7 separate regions of the Homo sapiens genome follow, and regions 1, 3, 4, 5, 6 and 7 are each linked to region 2. The links are contacts of gene promoters, found by promoter capture Hi-C in human tissues and cell types (Jung and others, 2019). All regions are on one chromosome and are shown on one strand. The core of a region is centred on a gene start or on the middle of the fragment in contact, and the rest is flanking DNA. Distances in the headings are between cores, read along the strand shown.

The links. Contacts are between HindIII fragments. The study calls those that stand out against the background at their distance.
Region 1: a fragment that was not itself captured here is called in contact with the fragment with the promoter of MARCKS in region 2 in 2 of the 25 tissues and cell types used here (dorsolateral prefrontal cortex and hippocampus).
Region 3: a contact is called between a fragment that was not itself captured here and the fragment with the promoter of MARCKS in region 2, in 1 of the 25 tissues and cell types used here (IMR-90 fibroblasts).
Region 4: a fragment that was not itself captured here is called in contact with the fragment with the promoter of MARCKS in region 2 in 1 of the 25 tissues and cell types used here (dorsolateral prefrontal cortex).
Region 5: a contact is called between a fragment that was not itself captured here and the fragment with the promoter of MARCKS in region 2, in 1 of the 25 tissues and cell types used here (dorsolateral prefrontal cortex).
Region 6: a contact is called between a fragment that was not itself captured here and the fragment with the promoter of MARCKS in region 2, in 5 of the 25 tissues and cell types used here (IMR-90 fibroblasts, dorsolateral prefrontal cortex, heart right ventricle and 2 more).
Region 7: a contact is called between a fragment that was not itself captured here and the fragment with the promoter of MARCKS in region 2, in 1 of the 25 tissues and cell types used here (dorsolateral prefrontal cortex).

What each region holds. Positions count from the first base shown.
Region 1 is chr6:112,679,832-112,682,531 of GRCh38, forward strand. No RefSeq gene overlaps it. Among named protein-coding and RNA genes, the nearest start is that of RFPL4B, 330 kb to the left of the region's middle. The HindIII fragment of the contact is 4,390 bases long and covers 1-2,700 here.
Region 2 is chr6:113,856,059-113,858,758 of GRCh38, forward strand. It overlaps MARCKS (myristoylated alanine rich protein kinase C substrate), which reads left to right and starts at 1,287. Exons shown (of 2, transcript NM_002356.7): 1 at 1,287-1,789. The coding sequence starts at 1,688. RefSeq lists enhancers at 42-101, 122-171, 442-987, 988-1,531, 1,319-1,368. The HindIII fragment of the contact is 5,128 bases long and covers 1-2,700 here.
Region 3 is chr6:112,514,087-112,516,786 of GRCh38, forward strand. No RefSeq gene overlaps it. Among named protein-coding and RNA genes, the nearest start is that of RFPL4B, 170 kb to the left of the region's middle. The HindIII fragment of the contact is 5,625 bases long and covers 1-2,700 here.
Region 4 is chr6:112,494,842-112,497,541 of GRCh38, forward strand. No RefSeq gene overlaps it. Among named protein-coding and RNA genes, the nearest start is that of RFPL4B, 150 kb to the left of the region's middle. The HindIII fragment of the contact is 4,169 bases long and covers 1-2,700 here.
Region 5 is chr6:112,104,421-112,107,120 of GRCh38, forward strand. No RefSeq gene overlaps it. Among named protein-coding and RNA genes, the nearest start is that of FAM229B, 18 kb to the left of the region's middle. The HindIII fragment of the contact is 4,320 bases long and covers 1-2,700 here.
Region 6 is chr6:112,559,915-112,562,614 of GRCh38, forward strand. No RefSeq gene overlaps it. Among named protein-coding and RNA genes, the nearest start is that of RFPL4B, 210 kb to the left of the region's middle. The HindIII fragment of the contact is 3,570 bases long and covers 1-2,700 here.
Region 7 is chr6:112,461,658-112,464,357 of GRCh38, forward strand. No RefSeq gene overlaps it. Among named protein-coding and RNA genes, the nearest start is that of RFPL4B, 120 kb to the left of the region's middle. The HindIII fragment of the contact is 5,898 bases long and covers 1-2,700 here.

The DNA of each region.
Region 1 (2,700 bases), core at 118-2,617, 1.2 Mb before region 2:
TTATTTCTGGAAAATAATATTTTATCAAAATTATTATCATTTAAGAAATTTATTTCCTGCAAGTTGGGCAAAATTTAGAGGACTTAGATAGCTTTCCAATGTGTGCGTGTGTGTGTGTGTGTGTGTGTGTATTCTTAAATATGGCATCAAGATTTTCTGCAACTGAATTAATTTTGAATAAAAGATATCTTTTGTCCTTCAACATGTAAAAATCAGCTCTTGACTATCAGAAGAAACTTATACTAAGTTACACCATTTAGTGTAGGAGATTTTAGGGTAACCATTTCACAAAGCCAATTTCTGGTTTAATTTTCACTGTGTATAAAAAGTTTTTCTTGGTTTTAATTCAGTTTCAAAGGATTTAGGGTTTATTCTGAGAGTCTAAGTTTATGTGTCATTGGATAAATAAGTGCATTTTCCTCATTCTTCAAATATTTTTCTGGAACAACTATTTCTAGCTAAAGTACTCTGATGGTAAGTTAAAAATTACAAATGTGCTTAAGACTATCATATAGTTTTAAAACATATCCTTGTCCATTAGCCAGGACACACAGAAAAACAAGAAAGCTTGCCAGCCATGGAGACATTTTCTTTCTTTCTTTCTTTTTTTTAATAAGCATTTCTTTTTATGCTTCTCTGTTTTATTTAATCAGATAAGAATTAAATATTGGCAGGTTGGAGAATGTCACCACAAACAAATGAAGGATGTGCATTTTGTTTCAGGTAAAAAGAGACAATACTATTTAGTTGTGGGAAGGGAAACATGATATCAAGCTGGCGAGCTCTTAAGGTTCATTTGGGTTTTACGTCTATGAATTTGTTTGAACTTGTTCATTAAACAACAAACTTCCCCTTACTTCTCCTAGCACACAAAAAGAAAAATTAATCTAAAAAATGCAGAGATTATTTCTTTGTGCTTCCTCTTGGTGCAAAAGTCATAGGTTGATTTCCTACAATTAAACTTGGTTTTTAACAAAGAAAACAAATGATTGAGAGAAAAAGTATCACGTTATTAATGAAAAATAAAATAGTAAAATGTCCCAGAAATAGAAACAGGCACCTTTTCACATTCTACTGTTTTCTACTGAATAAATGAATATCAAACTGAGAAACATTAATGCATGTGGTTGAACAGCAGGTAACACAGGTAATAGCAACACTAAACAAACAAAAAGTAAAAAATAATCAGTTGCATTTCTGTCTCATTAGTACTACCTATGATTTCAGACTTGAATTCATATTCAACATATTTCTGTGGAAAGATACAAGGCCTAAAATGGAGTAATATGTTTTCCAAGTAAGCTTATTTGGAAAATATTTGAAAGAGCAGATTATTTGACCATGTGCAAAACAAACATTAACCATCTCAACTTCTTCTAATGTTATATCAACAAACCATCCTCCTCCTTTACATAATGCAGTAGCTTATATATATTGTGATAGATTGTCCACAATTATCCTTCCTTCTCTGCCCTTGTTAGGACTCCCCATGGACATGGTAAAGTGTCTCATCCCACTGGCTTTTGGCTTGGTCACATGACTTGCTTTGACAAATGGAAGGTGCAGAATTGAGATCATGCTTTGTAAGCATGGTATTAAAAGGCATTATGTGCTTCTTCTCATCTTTCTTGCACTCTGCCATGACATTATCACATCACAGATGGAAGCTTCTCTTTTCACCTAGATCCTAGAATAAGGAAACACAAAGAGTAAACCTGTACCCAACCCACAGCCTGGAACAGACCCACTGCAGCCAATCCCCAGACCCACGAATGAGAAGTCAATGTTTGCCTGAACAATGTAAGCCTGAAAGTTTGGGCTTGTTGATTATGCATAATTATAACTGGAAAAACTGACTAATACAAGTGTCCATGAAAAAATTAACAAGAAAAGTTCAATAGAGATGGCATTATAAAACATGCTTGCAGTTTATCCAGGAGTACCAAGGCCTTGTACTAAGAAGGTGATGTAAAGGAGCTTAGTACATAGTGGTGGAGACCTCACCACTGGGTGCAAGAATCAGAATAAATATGGGAGTTGGGGACCTACTTTTAAAAGAATGAAGACCTTGGACAAGTTAGCATAATCGGAAGTTATATGAAAGAAAAGAAGACAAGGAAACAGTGACTACAAATGGGGTAAAAAAAATAGAGGTAAATCAGCAGCAAGACTGATGGTTTACGGAGCCCTGGAGTAGTTGAGCTGTTTCTTCTTTAAATTTTTCTTATTGTGATGCTAGCTTGTAGTAATGTCAAGTGGCTTCAGATAAGATGGGTCAAGGGAACAAGGCAGGGCCTGGCACTAGAGGCCCGGGTCACTTCTATGTGAATTATCCTCATAATAAACTGACAGCATCTGAAAGGATCTTTTCCGGATGGGGCTCCAGGGCGTGATAAGCATACCCATAAGAACTGTAAGACCTGTAAGACCTGTAAGAACAAACCAAACCACAAAATTAACATGAGATGAATACACTGCCAGCTTGCCAAGACAGATCGTAATGTAGTGGGTGGTCTCTTTGTCATCTTAAGTAATCATTGTGTTGGCATAAGCTTACAAATAGAAATATATTTTTAAAGAATTACAGAGAAAAGTCATTTTACTTTTACAAAGGCCATCGCTACATTTGGATTTAAAGGCTTTCAAAGACAGGACTGTGTTCCCTTTGATACAGGTTTCTTTCTCCATCTCCCCATATGG
Region 2 (2,700 bases), core at 37-2,536:
CTTTGGGAAGAAAATGCTTATTAAGCTGTTTCCTTGGTTCCCCTCACCCCTCATACTTTAAGTCAGTGCCTTGTCTCTCACGCACAAAAAGCGTCTGGTACTTCGGTGGCAAGGAGTGCAGTGACAGATGGAGGTATCCTGTGTACCATTATAGAAGGTTTTCCTCTAACCCAAGTTAGACTTGGAGAGCTCAGGGATCTTGCTATCTCTCAACATACAGAACATTTCTCCTTAGAACTGCAATCCGGTTTAGAATGTCATCGTTGCTGCTGCCTCCCTTCCTTTCAGGAGCACATTCGCCTGCGTGCGCACTCACACACACGTTCAAAAAGAGTCCATTCGATTCTGGCAGTAGGCTGAAAACGATCCATATTGACGCGAATAACATCCCAACTGTAAATATGGATTCGTCTACTCGAGGCTGTGTCTCATTTCACCATAGAGGAAAATTATGTCATTTAAAACAGTGATAAAACGCGAAGAGTTTCGATCTTCTGTAAATGGCTCTCACTTTGAATTGTGGGGGAAAAAAATCACTAATTGGGAATAGCCAGAGAAGGGGGAATTTGTTGAGCGCCCAAGGCCAATCTCAAAATATTTTATTTCATGCCAATGTGGGAGAGGGAAGGGAGTGTGGCTTCGCTGTTTGCCGCTTTTGCATTTTCCACATCTGGCCTACAGACCTAATTCTAACTTGCGATCTCGCTTGATGAAATTCGATCTTCGTGGTTTAAATACCTTTCAATTTGGGACGATTTAACCATTGCAGCAGTTCAAAAAACAAACCCTGAGCATTATCTGTAAAACCAATATGGAAAAAAGAAAGAAAACATGCTGCAAACACACAAATCGCAACCATTGTCTTTAACACTCGCATACACACACATACACATAAACACACGGAAAGATGGGGGAGGGGAGCGAGTGGAGAGAGAGAGACACACGGATATAGACCGACGAGAGTCAATGCGAGTCAAGTTAACGCTTTCTCCGCCCCGATGCACAAGTACCCCCCTCCCGTGTTAATTAATTCCAAACAAAGCAAGCCAATCAAGAAATGCATTATTATTTTCAAGCAGAGAGAGACGAGTGCCATGTATTTTTTAATTGATTTATTTATTTGGAGGACATTAATTCTCGGTCTGAGGCTGATTTTCAAACCGTTTGCAAAGCGCGGCTCCATTGTTCGCCAGGCGCGCAGACCCCGCCCCCTGCTTTGTGTGCGGCGCGCGGATTGGCCGACGCGCGCGGGGGCCGCGTCAGCGCCCGCGAGCCCATTCATCTGTGCACTTGGGCGTTGGACCCCGCATCTTATTAGCAACCAGGGAGATTTCTCCATTTTCCTCTTGTCTACAGTGCGGCTACAAATCTGGGATTTTTTTATTACTTCTTTTTTTTTCGAACTACACTTGGGCTCCTTTTTTTGTGCTCGACTTTTCCACCCTTTTTCCCTCCCTCCTGTGCTGCTGCTTTTTGATCTCTTCGACTAAAATTTTTTTATCCGGAGTGTATTTAATCGGTTCTGTTCTGTCCTCTCCACCACCCCCACCCCCCTCCCTCCGGTGTGTGTGCCGCTGCCGCTGTTGCCGCCGCCGCTGCTGCTGCTGCTCGCCCCGTCGTTACACCAACCCGAGGCTCTTTGTTTCCCCTCTTGGATCTGTTGAGTTTCTTTGTTGAAGAAGCCAGCATGGGTGCCCAGTTCTCCAAGACCGCAGCGAAGGGAGAAGCCGCCGCGGAGAGGCCTGGGGAGGCGGCTGTGGCCTCGTCGCCTTCCAAAGCGAACGGACAGGTAAATTCTACCTGTGGTTGTGGTCATTTATTTCGTGTCTTTCTCTCCTTCCCTCCTGGTGGCTCCCAAGGCTCATTCGTGGAGAGGAGTGTGGCTGGATTCTAGTCTGAAAGTTGAATGGAAATGGATAGCCTAAATTGTGGATTTTTCATAGCCGGGGTCCCCCCACACCAAAGGAGTGGTTCCTTAGAATCCTGGAGAATTCTTGAGTAGACGGGAGGAAAGGAGTGATAAATCGTCTAAAATGGCGTGGTTTGGAGATTGGCAGAACGTGACTAGCTAGGTGCCCTCCTTCCCCCGCCCCCAGCCAGGTTTCATTTGTGTTTGGGGGCACAATGGTGTTTGGGTGTCTCTCGGGTTTGTTGTCGAAGCTGGATTGTCTTCGAGATTTCTGAACTGGTGGTGTGATTGTGTGTGGCGGGGGGGGGAGTCGGGAAAGGGGGGCGCAATGGGGATGGTGGTGGAGAAAGGCGAGGAGGGAAAGGCTGTCTTATTGTATGCCGCGGCGGCGTGCCCTGGGTTCTTGGAAAGGTGGCTGGCTGGGGCCAGACAGAGGGCTTCGGTACCTTTTGATGAGGCTTTCCCACTGTCCTAAATCTTTATTCGTAGCTGTCTGTGGAATTACACATCCATTTGATTTTTAAATGGTATCTGTGGGGTGGGAACACTCGGTGGGTCCTTTAAGAACCTTTCCAGATGGTCAAAAAGAGGCGGTTCGTGCCTTTCGGTCGGGATTGTTCTTGTGCGTGGCGCCTCGACCACCCGCGAGGGGCCGCCCGGCGCTGCCCGGACCCAGGCAGATAGCCACGATTGGGTGGACCCGAGAGGTCGGCCATGGGTGGCTGCTTCGCAAACACTGGGCACCCACCACGCCTCTTTTCCTAGAGAAGAGATCGTGTCGCTTCGCCTGC
Region 3 (2,700 bases), core at 39-2,538, 1.3 Mb before region 2:
GGGCAAGCAAGGAATCATGTAAAGCAGTTAGGTGGCTATTGCGTTAATTTGAGATGGTGGTGGTTTGGATTAGAATGGGACCTTGGAGCTGATAAGAAGTGCTTGTTGTCTGAATACATGCTGAAATTTGAACTGACAGGATCTGATGATGGAATGAGATGTATGGTAGGGGAGAAACAGAAATTAAGTATTATAGAAGTTTTCAAATTTGAGACACTGCAAAAATGGAGATGCTATTTCCAGCAATGAGGGATAACAGATTTGTTGAGGGGAAATGCGGGGTATAGTTTGGATGGCTTGAGTTTATAGTGCCTAGTAGATGTCCAAGTGGAGATGTTGAGGAGCCATTTGCATTCACCCAGGAAAAGAACCTAGATGTAGAGAAGAAATGATCTAAGGATTGTGCCCAGGGCAGCCAACTTCCTTTATAGCTGGAGGACAGCAGAGAATTTAGGCATAGATGCAGATAATTGGGTAGATGTGGTGCTGGGAGCTTACGAAAGCTTCTCTCTGAGTGCTTCTGTTTTCCCATTGAAATAGAAAGTAGGACCATCATCTGAGAAAAAGGATGGGGGTACAAGTATAGGTTTCAAGGGAGATGAAAAAAAGAGTCCTTTAGAAGATAGAAGAATGAGAAGGTAAAGGGATCTGAGTGGCAGAGCCAGAAAGCTCTCTGGGTGTACCTGAATTCAAAGTTATGAATTCAACATCGGACCATTCAGTGTGATTGTATTGTTTACTCCAGCAATGTTCAGCTGTGGGAATGAAATCACAAAGTGGGTGCAAGAGTAGGATTTAATCAGGATTAGTCTTTTTACAAGGGAGAACATTGAGCAGGAGGGGGCAAAGGAAATGGGGGAATGCAAGGGAGTGATTATAATGAAGAACCAGGGAACTTAAGCTGAGTTAAGAAGAATTAGTTGACAAAGTACTAACATACAATTAAAAGAGAGCATGTAAAGACAATTGCATGAGAATTTGCTGTATGAAAACGTCACTCTATGTCTTTGAGTGTCCCTGGGGTTATAAATACTCTTTCTTTAGAGAGTATGGCTTCATACTCCAATATCACTTAGAGTCACTTTATTGTGACAATTTTGTTTAATGGGTTCCAAAACACCGTAGAGGCAGGAACAAATATTTCAAATTCACAGTACTTTTCCTGCAATACTGAAATTGAAAAACCACTACAACTTGGAAGCTGATTTTCTAATTCATTTGGTAGCAGAATATGACCTCACCTGAACTCAACTGGTGGCAAATTGTTGTTTATTTATGTAATAATGTGAATAATCCTACATTATCTGCTGAAATATTAGCATGCTTTATTAAAGGGAACTGCTGGAGACTCTGGCTGGGATGTCACATAATATACAGAATATTTCTCATTAACATTCTAAAATCTGAAAAAGCCTCAATCTCAGAACCCATTTCACCTTAAGGATTTTGGATAAGAGACTATAACCTATACTAACATTCTACTTGAAAGAAAACCGATGTTTGGATATTTAAGTAACTTGTGTAAGGCCATGAGTTGTAAGTGGGATAGCCAGGTTTGAACCCGATGCTGTGTGAGTCCAGGGTACAACTATAGAATCCATTACTGCATCCCCCTCAGCAACTTTCTTTCAATGGTTGTAGAGTTGTTCATTCAGCCACTTAACACTCATTGTGCAACTGGGGACCACAATGTGGAGGAAAGAGAAACTCTATGAGGATTCATATAATCTCCACTTGGCTATACTCAAAGAATATAGAAACATGTTAATGAGAGAGGTATCAGTCTGCCTGTTTGTCTGTCTTAACCAGGAAGATGGGTCAGAGTTGGAATGGAAACACCTTTTTTAATGTGAGGCAAGAAACTCAAAAGCAGAATCTCTCCTGTTGAGTGAACTGACATGTTCAGCCAGTACCTGCTATCACCGAAATTGCCCAGTTGAGTGGCTGCATGTATAAAACATTTGAGTTCTCAATCAAAATAAACTCATTTTTGAAAATCCACTCTTTCCACGCTACAACTACTGCCGATAATAGCAAACATTGACTTCGTGCTCACAATTTTTCAAACACTGTTGTGAACACTTCATGTATTTCATTTCATTTAATGTTTAAAACAACCTTGTGAAGTAGGTAATATTTATTATCCTTCTTTTATGGATGAAGAAATCAAAGATTAGAGAGGTTTAGCAAATACTCAAGGATATGTAGCTAGTAAAGGGAAATAAAGGCTTCTAATCTATGCTGCTAGGCTTGAAAACAGTGGTTTATAACCATTTAGCACCTTGCGTTTCAAAAGTAAGCAATGATAGCAATAATAATAGCTACTACTTTTTGTAAGCCTACTATGGGTCATATACTTTATAAACATTATCTCATTTTGCTGCCACAATAATCCCAAAAGCTTATTAACTGGGAGAACTAAGATTCAGATAGTTGTACAATTTGACTATGTCTGTACAGCTGCTAATTGCTCCTTTCTGTTACCAAGCCAAGACATTCAAGTCTGAGAAAGAAAAGGCTTCTATATGTGGTTTATCATACTGCTGTACACAAGGAGGGCAATTTTAGTTACTGGGGTGTAGTTTTTACAAAAGTTCAGGGTCAAAAGCAGTGAAAACTACGACAACTTACCCTTTTAGCCTCTAGTTTTGTAATTCTGTAAGGTTTTCTTACATACTTTTTCCCCTTTTTTTCCTTTCT
Region 4 (2,700 bases), core at 27-2,526, 1.4 Mb before region 2:
TGTCTGTTCAACACTTGAAAGCTTGCTTGATATTATGCTGAGACTGTAGAGTTTAAAACTCTGGAGCTAAAAGAGACAACAGAATTCATCCAATCTGACTTTAAAGATGCAGAAACTGAGGACTGGAAAGCTTTGCTTAACACATATCTTGACCAGAATAGGAACTATAACTTAAAGTTTCCGTAAGACACTGAGTAATTACATCAATATTTAACATGAATGGCATCTGTCTTCTTGTTCTCTACTCAGTCATTGAGGATCTCAGTGGGGAATGGGATGAAGAGCTCAGGTGGAAGGGATTTGCCTTGAAGAGGAGGATGCCTGTCGTGCATGTTCTACTCTATTTTTTTATGAAGTACGGATCTATGCTATCCACAGGGTTGAGAGGGAAGGAAGACATTAGGAGCATGCTATAAGTTTGGACTGTCTGCTGAGAGAATGGAAAGTGAATGTGCCTAGGAATGAATACAATGAAGTGAATACATAGTGGAGCATTGAAGACTCACCTGGGCGTGAATGGAAGCAATGTGAGATGGTACTAATCAGCAAGACTATTTTTTTTTCAGTAGTGCTCATGGTTCTGGAGAAGAAATAGAAAAGTGAGTCCTTAAACTGATCCCACATTGTAGAAGGGTCTGGCAAGCGAGGCCTACTGGTTAGAGAGCAAGCAAACCGAGAGCTTTCATAACACAGGCAAGAGGGAATCGATGGATCCTGGGAAGGATAGTATCACAGGATAAAGGAAGGACTCCATGAAGTTTAAATTTAGAGTTAATGAGAGAAAAATATTGGAAGGAATGAATGGACAGAAAGTTCTGATCAGAAAATGTGATTTCTAAGCTTGAGCTTTCAGGACCATGTGGTTCAATACAATAGCCACTGGTCACATATGGCTACTCCAAACTGGGATGAGCTGTAAGTGTAAAATATAGCCCAGATTTTGAAAACTTAGAATGAAAAAAAGAATGCAAAATGTGTTACTATTTTAAATATTTATTCCATATTGAAATGATAATATATGGGATATATTGGGCTAAATAAAATGTTATTAAAATTAATTTCACCTGCTGCTTTTTAAAATGTGGCTACTGGAAAAGTTAAAATTATACATGAGGCTTGCATTACACTTATATTGGATAGCACTGTTTTAGCAGTTGTATAGTTACAAATCAAAACAGAGCTTTTCAAAATGTGATCTTCAATCATTTAATTGATATTTAGGGCATAAACGACCAATATTTTAAAATAGCTAGAAAAATTATCATGGTATAAAAATTAAAGAGTAAACAACATTTTAATATGTGTTAATGAAAGTGATCATGGCTTAATTTAAGAGGAAGAAATTTTCCTAGTTTTTCACTGAATTCATGATACAAAACTCATTTGCAGATAGATTAATACATTGATTAGGAAACACATTCAATAGTTTTCTATTCTTAGTCTTTATATATTTGTATTAAATTAGTCATGAGTTGGCAATATGGAAATAATTAGTTGGTGACTGTCAAATAGTGCTGAATAATCAGCTTGTCCCGAAACTCAGGGAGATTTCTGTTTAAAACCACTTCCAGTGTTGTTGACAAACATTTCCCACTCAAAGTAGAAGTCAAAAGATAAATGCAAATGGATTTCTAATCCATTTTTTAGTCGCAATTATCTCTAGAAATTTTATTGCCTTTTTATAGAATTTGAATGTGGTTTTAAAATAAAACTCTTACATAGAGTGTCAAAAGATCTTTGGCAAGGGTGCCAATAGGGAGAGGTTAGTCTCTTCAATAAAAGTGCTGGAAAACCTGGATAATACATGTGTAAAAGAATAAAGCTGAACCATTATTTTATACCATATACAACAATTAAAATGGATTAAAGATCTAAACACAAGACCTGAAACTATGCAACTCCTGGAAGAAAACATAGTGGAAAAACTTCATGACATGAGATTTGACAATGATTTCTTGGACATGAAACCAAAAGCACAGACAACAAAAGCAAAAATAGAGAGATGGGACCACACGCAACTTAAAAAACTTCTGTAGATTAAAAGAAACAGTCAACAGAGTAAGATGGCAACCTACAGGATGGGAGAAAATATTTAGAAAACACACATGTGATATGGGCTTGGGTTAGTATCTAGAATATATAAAGAACTACAACTCAACAAAAAAATCTAACATCCAGTTGAAAAAATGGGCAAAGGACTTGAATAGACATTTTATCCAATAAAATGTACAAACTGCTTGCAAACATATGAAAAGATACTCAACATCAAAAAACACTAGGAAAATGCACATTGAGATGTCACTTCGCACTCATCAGGATGGCTAATTAAAAAAAAAACAAAATAAGTGTTGGCTAGGATGTGGCAAATTGGAACTTGTACACTGTTGGTGGGAAGGCAAAATTGTGCAGTCCCTATAAAAACAGCATAAAAGCTGCTCAAAAAATTAAAAATCGAATTATCATATTTTCCAAAAGAAATGAAAACAGGTTTTCAAGGAAATATTTGCACACCCATTTTTATTGCAGATTAACAATAGCTAACAAGTGAAAGCAACACAAATGTTCATTGACAGGTGAACAGATAAAGAAAATGTGGTCTATACATAAAATGGAATATTATTCTGCCTTAAAAAGGAGAAAATCCTGTTACATGCTACAACATAGATGAACCTTAAGGACATTGTATAAGTAAAATAAGAC
Region 5 (2,700 bases), core at 171-2,670, 1.8 Mb before region 2:
AGAAGACAGGAAAAGAGGAAAGAAGGAACAAAGATAATACATTTAAACCATATGATATTGATATTTGCATTAATTACAGAAGGTCTAAATTTCAGTTAAAAGGCAGAGATTATCAGATTGGCTAGAAAAGAAGATGCAACTATGAGCTGTCTACATGAGCCCACCTTAAATACTAAGACTCAGATAAATTAAAAGTATAAAAGGATAGAAATAGATATGCCATGCAGACATTAATCTGAAGAAAGCTGGAGTAGCTATGTTAATAATAGACAAGAAGATTTCAGAGCAAAGAATTTACAGAGGTAAAGAGAGACAATTCATAATGATAAAGGGGTCAAGACATCAAGAATACCTAACAATCTTAAATGTTTATGCCAGAGCTTCAAAGTACATGAAGCAAAAACTGATGCAATTGAAAGAAGAACTAACTCCACATTTGTAGTTCAGGATTTCAGCTGGTAGAACAAGTAAACAGAATCAGTAGGGATATAGAGGACATGACAATTGATATAGAACACTTTACCTAGGAACAGCAGAATACTGTATATTCTTTTCAAGTGCACATGGAAAATTTACCAAGTAGAACATATTGTAGGCCACAAAACAAGTTTCAATAAATTGAAAAGTATTCAAAGTATGGAAGGGTAGGCAAAGTATGTCCTACAGTAGAATTAAATTATAAGTTAACAATAGAAAGATACCTAGAGAATCTCCAAATATTGGAATACTAAGTGATACACTTCTGAATAACCCATGAATAAAAGAAGAAATGACTGAATAAATTAGAAAGTGCTTTGAACTGGATGAAAACAAAAACACAGCATATCAAAATGCATGGGTAGCGCTTAGAGAGAATTAAGGCAATAAATTATTTCATTAGAAAAGAAGAAACATCTCAAGGCAATGATCTAAGCTTCTACCTTAAGAAAACAGAAAAAAATGAGCAAACTAAATCCAAAATAAGCAGAAAGAAAGAAGTAATAAAGAGCAGAAACAATGATATAAGAGCAGATAAATAATAGAGAAAATCAATAGAAACAAAAGCTGGTTCTTAAAAAAGATCAATAAAATTGATAAACCTCTAGGTAGAATTATCAGGAAATAAAAAGACACAAATTATCAAATCAGGAATGATAGTAGGGGCATCACTACAGATTTAAGAAACTACCATCAGAGTGAACAGGCAACCTACAGAATGGGAGAGAATGTTTGCAATCTGCTCATCTGACAAAGGGCTAATATCCAGAATCTACAATGAACTCAAACAAATCTACAAGAAAAAAACAGCCCCATCAAAAAGTGGGCGAAGGATATGAACAGACACTTCTCAAAAGAAGACATTTATGTAGCCAAAAGACACATGAAAAAATGCTCATCATCACTGGCCATCAGAGAAATGCAAATCAAAACCACAATGAGATACCATCTCACACCAGTTAGAATGGCGATCATTAAAAAGTCAGGAAACAACAGGTGCTGGAGAGGATGTGGAGAGATAGGAACACTTTTACACTGTTGGTGGGACTGTAAACTAGTTCAACCATTGTGGAAGTCGGTGTGGTGATTCCTCAGGAATCTTGAGATATAAATACCATTTGACCATTTCACCCAGCAATCCCATTACTGGATATATACCCAAAGGATTATAAAACATGCTGCTATAAAGACACATATACACGTATGTTTATTGTGGCACTATTCACAATAGCAAAGACTTGGAACCAACCCAAATGTCCAACAATGATAGACTGGATTAAGAAAATGTGGCACATATATACCATGGAATACTATGCAGCCATAAAAAATGATGAGTTCATGTCTTTTGTAGAGACATGGATGAAGCTGGAAACCATCATTCTCAGCAAACTATTGCAAGGACAAAAAACCAAACACCGTATGTTCTCACTCATAGGTGGGAACTGAACAATGAGAACACATGGACACAGGAAGGGGAACATCACACATTGGGGCCTGTTGTGGTGAGGGGGGAGTGGGGAGGGATAGCATTAGGAGATATACTTAATGTTAAATGACGAGTTGATGGGCTCAGCACACCAACATGGCACATGTATACATATGTAACTAACCTGCACATTGTACCCTAAAATTTAAAGTAAAAAAAAAAAAACATTAAAAGGATAAATAGAGTTTTCAGCAGTATGAATTCTTTAATTCTTTAGTCTTCCAAGGCCTTTACCCTGAATAAATTGCCTTCCCACATTTCTTACATTTCCAGGTGTAAGCTTTCTGTAAGGGAATATTACAAATAGGTCCTAGGGCAACCTGGTGACACCATGCTTTCATAACCTTCCATCTGGCTGACATCAGCTCATTAATCAACAGTTTTTAGACAGGATCATTTGACAACATGTTCTGTTGAGGTTGCTGGTTTAGCTCTCTGTAAACTATGGTCTGGCTGGGCTGGTGAGGGACTCAAGCCTGAGCAGCCACCATCACTACACTTGAGAAGTTCCTTGAGAGATTCAACTGTTTCTTCCGGCTGCTAGGGTCATGCTACATTCCACTTACGTTTCTGCCTTCCTGTCCCATGCTTTGGCAGATCATCAGGCTTTCACCCCTAATCTCATCTTCCTTGTGCCCACCTCATCCTGTCCTCTAGCAGTCTTCTCTGGGAATGGTGTCCTTGGGTGCTGTGATGTTTAGAAACTGAGTGGTCCTATTCATGGTAGCCAAACTTCT
Region 6 (2,700 bases), core at 48-2,547, 1.3 Mb before region 2:
AACCTTTAAAACATGCTTCTTTTCACTCTGAGCAACTTCTTTGCATAATTTTATAATTTCTTCTCTCAGTTCTCTTCATTCTCCTTGCCTTTACTCCTAATATTCAGATACTATATCCATAATTGAGTGTTTATGTCTTTATATATTTTTTAAATTTTTGTACTATATTCTGGTTGACTTTTCAAATCTTATCTTTTAATGCCTACAATGACGGAAGAAAAAGTGTTTCTGCTCTAGAATCCTAAACATAGCCAGAATACCATTCAAGCATAATAAGATAATATAGCTATAACCAAGCTTAGAAAATTAATATGGCAAATGTCCTTTCTTTGGAAATCTCCTGAGGATTCTCTTCAAGAAAATAATGGTGACAACTAAAAACAAAAATGAAAACAATTTGGGCAACAATTTCTATATCAAAGAGTAATAAAGGTAAATAATTAACAGCACAACTGGTGTGTGGCAGCCTAGAGAGCTGGCACTCAAGCTTGGAGAAGGATGGAAGCTATGGAAAGGAGGTCCCTGAGAGGGGAAAAAAAGGACACCACATAATTAACAGTAGGTAGAGAGCTTAGAAAAAAAGTGAGGATATAATACAAGTACACAATTTTAGAATTAACACCCTCCTCACTACCACCATAAAGTTGGAGTATGGAATAATTAGGGACAGAGACTAAGCAGTTAAAATAAATGATCTCAAAGGGCTGAAATTTAGACTTTGAGTGCTAACTTACTTATATGGTTAAACTCAACCAGTAAAAAACTAGCATAATACTCAACCAATCAATAGAAAACAGCTATCAATTTCATGCCAAGATTGGTTCCAGAAGCACAGTAATAGTTCCTTTTTCTGAGTAAACTACAATCTGGTAGAGAATCAAGACGTGAATGAGATGATACCATTTGCCACAAGAATTTAGAGAAGGGAGACCCCATGTGGCACAGGGCTTGTGCATGTACAAGTGAACCTTTCAGAGCTGGGCAGACTTCCTAGTGCAGGCCAATGCCTGTGAACTAAGCGTCTTTCTCATTGGCCACTCCATCCTTAATTCACAGCAACACAGGCACTAAATAAAGGTTTAATACCATATTGTCTTGTCTTGGAACTAACAGCTTTCCTATTGTAAGTATCAATTTTCTTTAAACTTCCAAAGTTCTTCTGCGTGGGTCTTCATCAGTAATTTCTGGAGAAAAGCAATATTTTAGGATCCGAATACACCACTATGTCTTGTGGGATTCCAATTTGGGTCCTATAAGGAGCTCTTAAAAGTCTGACATTTTAGACTCTGCCTTGCCCTAACCCAGTGCTTTCTATTTCTAGGCTTTCAAAAGATCTTTCTAACTCCACTGTCCCTCTTCTTTTTGTTTGTGATATAGATTGATTTTCTTTAATATCATGTTTCTACTGTCTGTCTTTTCTTGCCCCAGCCTGGTTCTCCTGAGGTTACAAACCTCTAACAATCTTTAATATCTAATAGTTTTTAGTCTTATATTCAGCCTGTGCCATTTGTTTCTCTTTCTTCTTTTGTCCAGTCTTTTCAGCTTTATTTGCCTTGCTCTTCTTTGTCCTGCTTTGTTTTTCATTCATTCATTTATTCATTCATAAATATTAAACACTATACTAGGAGTGGGAATACAAAATCAATAAGAAATAGTCGTTCTAAAATATTTCATAATCCAATAGATCTTTAAGTGGAAGTTAGAGTAGATGTAAGACCTTCAATTGAGCTAAGAAAAATGGTCTGGCAATGCCTAATACTTAACACGAAAATGGGAGAAACAAGTTTTGCCTAGGATGCCTGAGTAAAGCTTTATAGAGCAGGTAAAAACTGAGCTGAATTTTGAGGGATGAGTAAGAGTTTAAGGAAAAAACAAAAACAGGGACTAGAGTAAGAAGGGAAAGGTATTCTAGGTGAAGGGAAGAGAATATACAGAGTTATGGAATGAGTTAGATGTTTGTGAATATCTTACTACCAGTAGTTACTCTAGCTATATTTGATTCTTTTCTTCCTGGGAAAGCAAAGTGAACCCCATCAAGGTCTCTAATGTTGCTGGTGGAGTGGTCAAGGACATTTTTTAAAATAGCTTTCATTTGGATAGTTTATATCCACTCCCATTGAAACTCCTCATTCTTCATCCTCTTCTCCCCAGGATTTCTCAGGGGTACTATATTATTACCAAATATTGGATGTAGTGAAATTTGTTAATAAACTCATCCTTTGCAAATATTAAACAGGTTATTTGTAATGACAGTTATTAAGGGGGATTTTCTAAGCCTGTATTTTGAGATGCTCAAACAATAGTCTTTGAGGGCAACTTACCAAATGCATTAAAGGAAGTCATTTGGAAACTTCTTTACTGCTTTCAGAAATAAGAGAATTGAATTTCTCTTTTGCAGCCAATTCTCTTCAGCCACACACACACACAAATGAAGGTTTACTAACACTCTTTCTCTTGAGAACACTATCTACTGTGAGTGGTGCCAACAGCTGAAAGCATCGAGCCTGCCCTTGCACTGTGAGAACACAGCTCTCTCCCAGGGTCTGCCCAGATGCTCATTAAAATCCAATGAGTACCCAACAAGGATGTGTTGTTTAGTCCAACATCATAGTTTTTATAAATAAAAGTATTTCAACTCGGTGTGGGAGGATGGACAAAGTCGAGCACCATGGTAACTGGGTCAAATGAACTCTTTAAACA
Region 7 (2,700 bases), core at 163-2,662, 1.4 Mb before region 2:
CATCCTCTTCATTTTGAGAAATAGAACAAAACTATAGATATTGATGTCACTCTATTATCATCATAAATGTACTTATTTGGTTTCAAATTCCACTGGTAAATAGCAGAATAGTGGGTTTTATAAGGTGGGGACAAGAATTTCAGGCATTTTTTTTTTTTTTTTGTGAGGGTTAGAGCAGACCTCCTTGTATTAGAATATACCGTTTACAGGAGAAATCCAAAACTTGGTCTATTTTAGTTTCTATTTCTGACCTATCTGTTTCCTTAAAGTTTTAGTTTGATTATGTTACATTTGGCGTGAGTGACTCCATTTTGGTTTCATCTGGTTTGTTCTGTTGGAGCCTAGTGCATGACTTCCATCAAAAACAATAATCTTCCATAATTTTATTTAAAAAATCCACCCCCGTCCCCTCCCCCCCACTTTTTGGCAGATTATCACTTAGGTAAAGTTGTGACCAAAAGCTTAAGGCCTTAGTATGACCTTCAGTTACCATCATTTTGGGTTTCTGGTTTCAGTTTGTTATTTTTAATTTATAGTGTCCTTGTGTTCACACATTTCTTTGAGTTTTTGTTGCTCCAGTTGAAGAGAGATCATTTGACATTCTAGACATGGCTGTATGCAAACATTTAAAAATTTTGAGAGAAGATAATGCAAGAGGGAGACTACTATTATAGCTATCATTAGGATAATACCAAAAGTTTGGAATATGCTATTTAGTTAGGGTACCCGTGAACCAAACCAACTATAATCAAATAGATCAAATGATGAGCCAGATAGAGTTTACCCCTTTTAAACAAGCTGCCTATACATTAATTCCTTACAACTGAATCTCTGTAATACCCAATATATTTTTCCATATGCAACTAGAAGTATCAGCAACTACACAGACACTTCTCTGTTCAGCCAGTAAGTCATCTAATGGGAAAGCTATTATACTACCAGAAAACATGCATTAAAAATGGCAACTGAATGAAATTCCTCTATAGATCTTTAAATGGCCCACTGGCCCATCTGGTAGCAGAAATGTAGCTGAAGTTTTTATTATTAATATTATTCCAGGACTATGAGTTTGAGAAACCAAACATTGGTCATGAACTATTTTAGCAATTTTGAACAGTCACCACACACAGACACATATACACAAGTGTGTGTTTGTGTACAAACATATATATTTATTTGATTTGGATTATTTTATCTCTTTCGTGATAAGTCATGGACTGCAGAGCTTTTAGTGATGAAAGCTTTAAGGACTCAGGAAGGATCAGGTGGCCTTTTGGGTTCTCCATGAGCCTGTACTTAATATTGGATTTATTTTCTCTTAAATACCAGGTTTGTTTCTGCAATTCATGTGTATAACACTGATAACTGATGGGTTATCATAGGTAATTTGACTTGGACCATGGAGTTCATTCAAATTGCATATCTTAACAATTTCAGTACTGGCTGATTTAGCATGAAAATCCGGCAAAGTATTTCCTTGGTATTCAATTATTTTTTGTCCTGCTTGGGTTAACAGTTTTATAAACCATTCACTGTCTTCACTGGAATTCTGGGAATTTTTATGCAGTCCAGATGATATGATCCTAAAGTTATCAGATACGTTTTTTAACAAACACACATTTGTATGCCTTTATAACTGCTCATCAAAAACATATTTTCCTTTTGTTTATAACTCTGTATATGCAATTGTTTATTCATATTTAGTAGTTTTAATTATATATAAAAATAATAATTTTAACTCTTAGTAACCTTAATTTATAGTGAAAACACTAGAAAGAAATTTTGAACTGTTTTGTATCAGTATTTGTAGATGAAAACTATTTTATAATTATTTAGAAAGATGTTTCCTTACATTATTATTTATTAACAGATCTAAATATATTTAGCTTTTCTATATCATATAAAAATAAGATGTCAAAATATATAAACATAAACTTATGTTTAATAATTAATGTTTCAGTATTTTAACTTACAAATGACTCTGAACTTTTATGATTATCTATTATTTAACATACCGTGACTTTAAGATTTTAAATTACTGAAAATAATTTTGAAACTGTGACACAGTGATATGGTTTGACTGTGTCCCCACCCAAATCTCACCTTGAATTGTAGCTCCCATAATTCCCGTGTGTCATGAGAGGGACCCAGTGGAAGGTAATTGAATCATGGGGGTAGGTTTTTCCAGTGCCATTATTATGATAGTGAATAAGTGTCATGAGATCTGATGGTTTTATAAAGGAAAGTTCTCCTGAACACACTTTCTTGCCTGTTGCCATGTAAAACGTGACTTTGCACCTTGTTTGTCTTCAGCCATGATTGTGAGGCCTCCCCAACCATGTGGAACTGTGAGTCCATTAAACCTCTTTCCTTTATAAATTACCCAGTCTCAGGTATGTCTTTACCAGCAATGTGAGAACAATCTAATACACACAGCTACATTCCCTAATGTCTTTTCTGGTCATCTTCGGTCTCAAGTAGCCATGTGGTTTCCAAGATGGCTATGAAGGGCAGAGCCTTTCTGAGACCTGGATTTACATACCAGGTGTAGAGCTCAGGACAGAAGATAGATCTGGGAAGACTGTGCCTCGAGGATCTGATCCCTCCCAGAATAGCCAGGAGGCAAAGCTAGGGCAGGGAAGAAGGGGCCACATTGGACTTGACTCTGACTTGCAGCAGCTGGTCTAGACACTGAGAAAA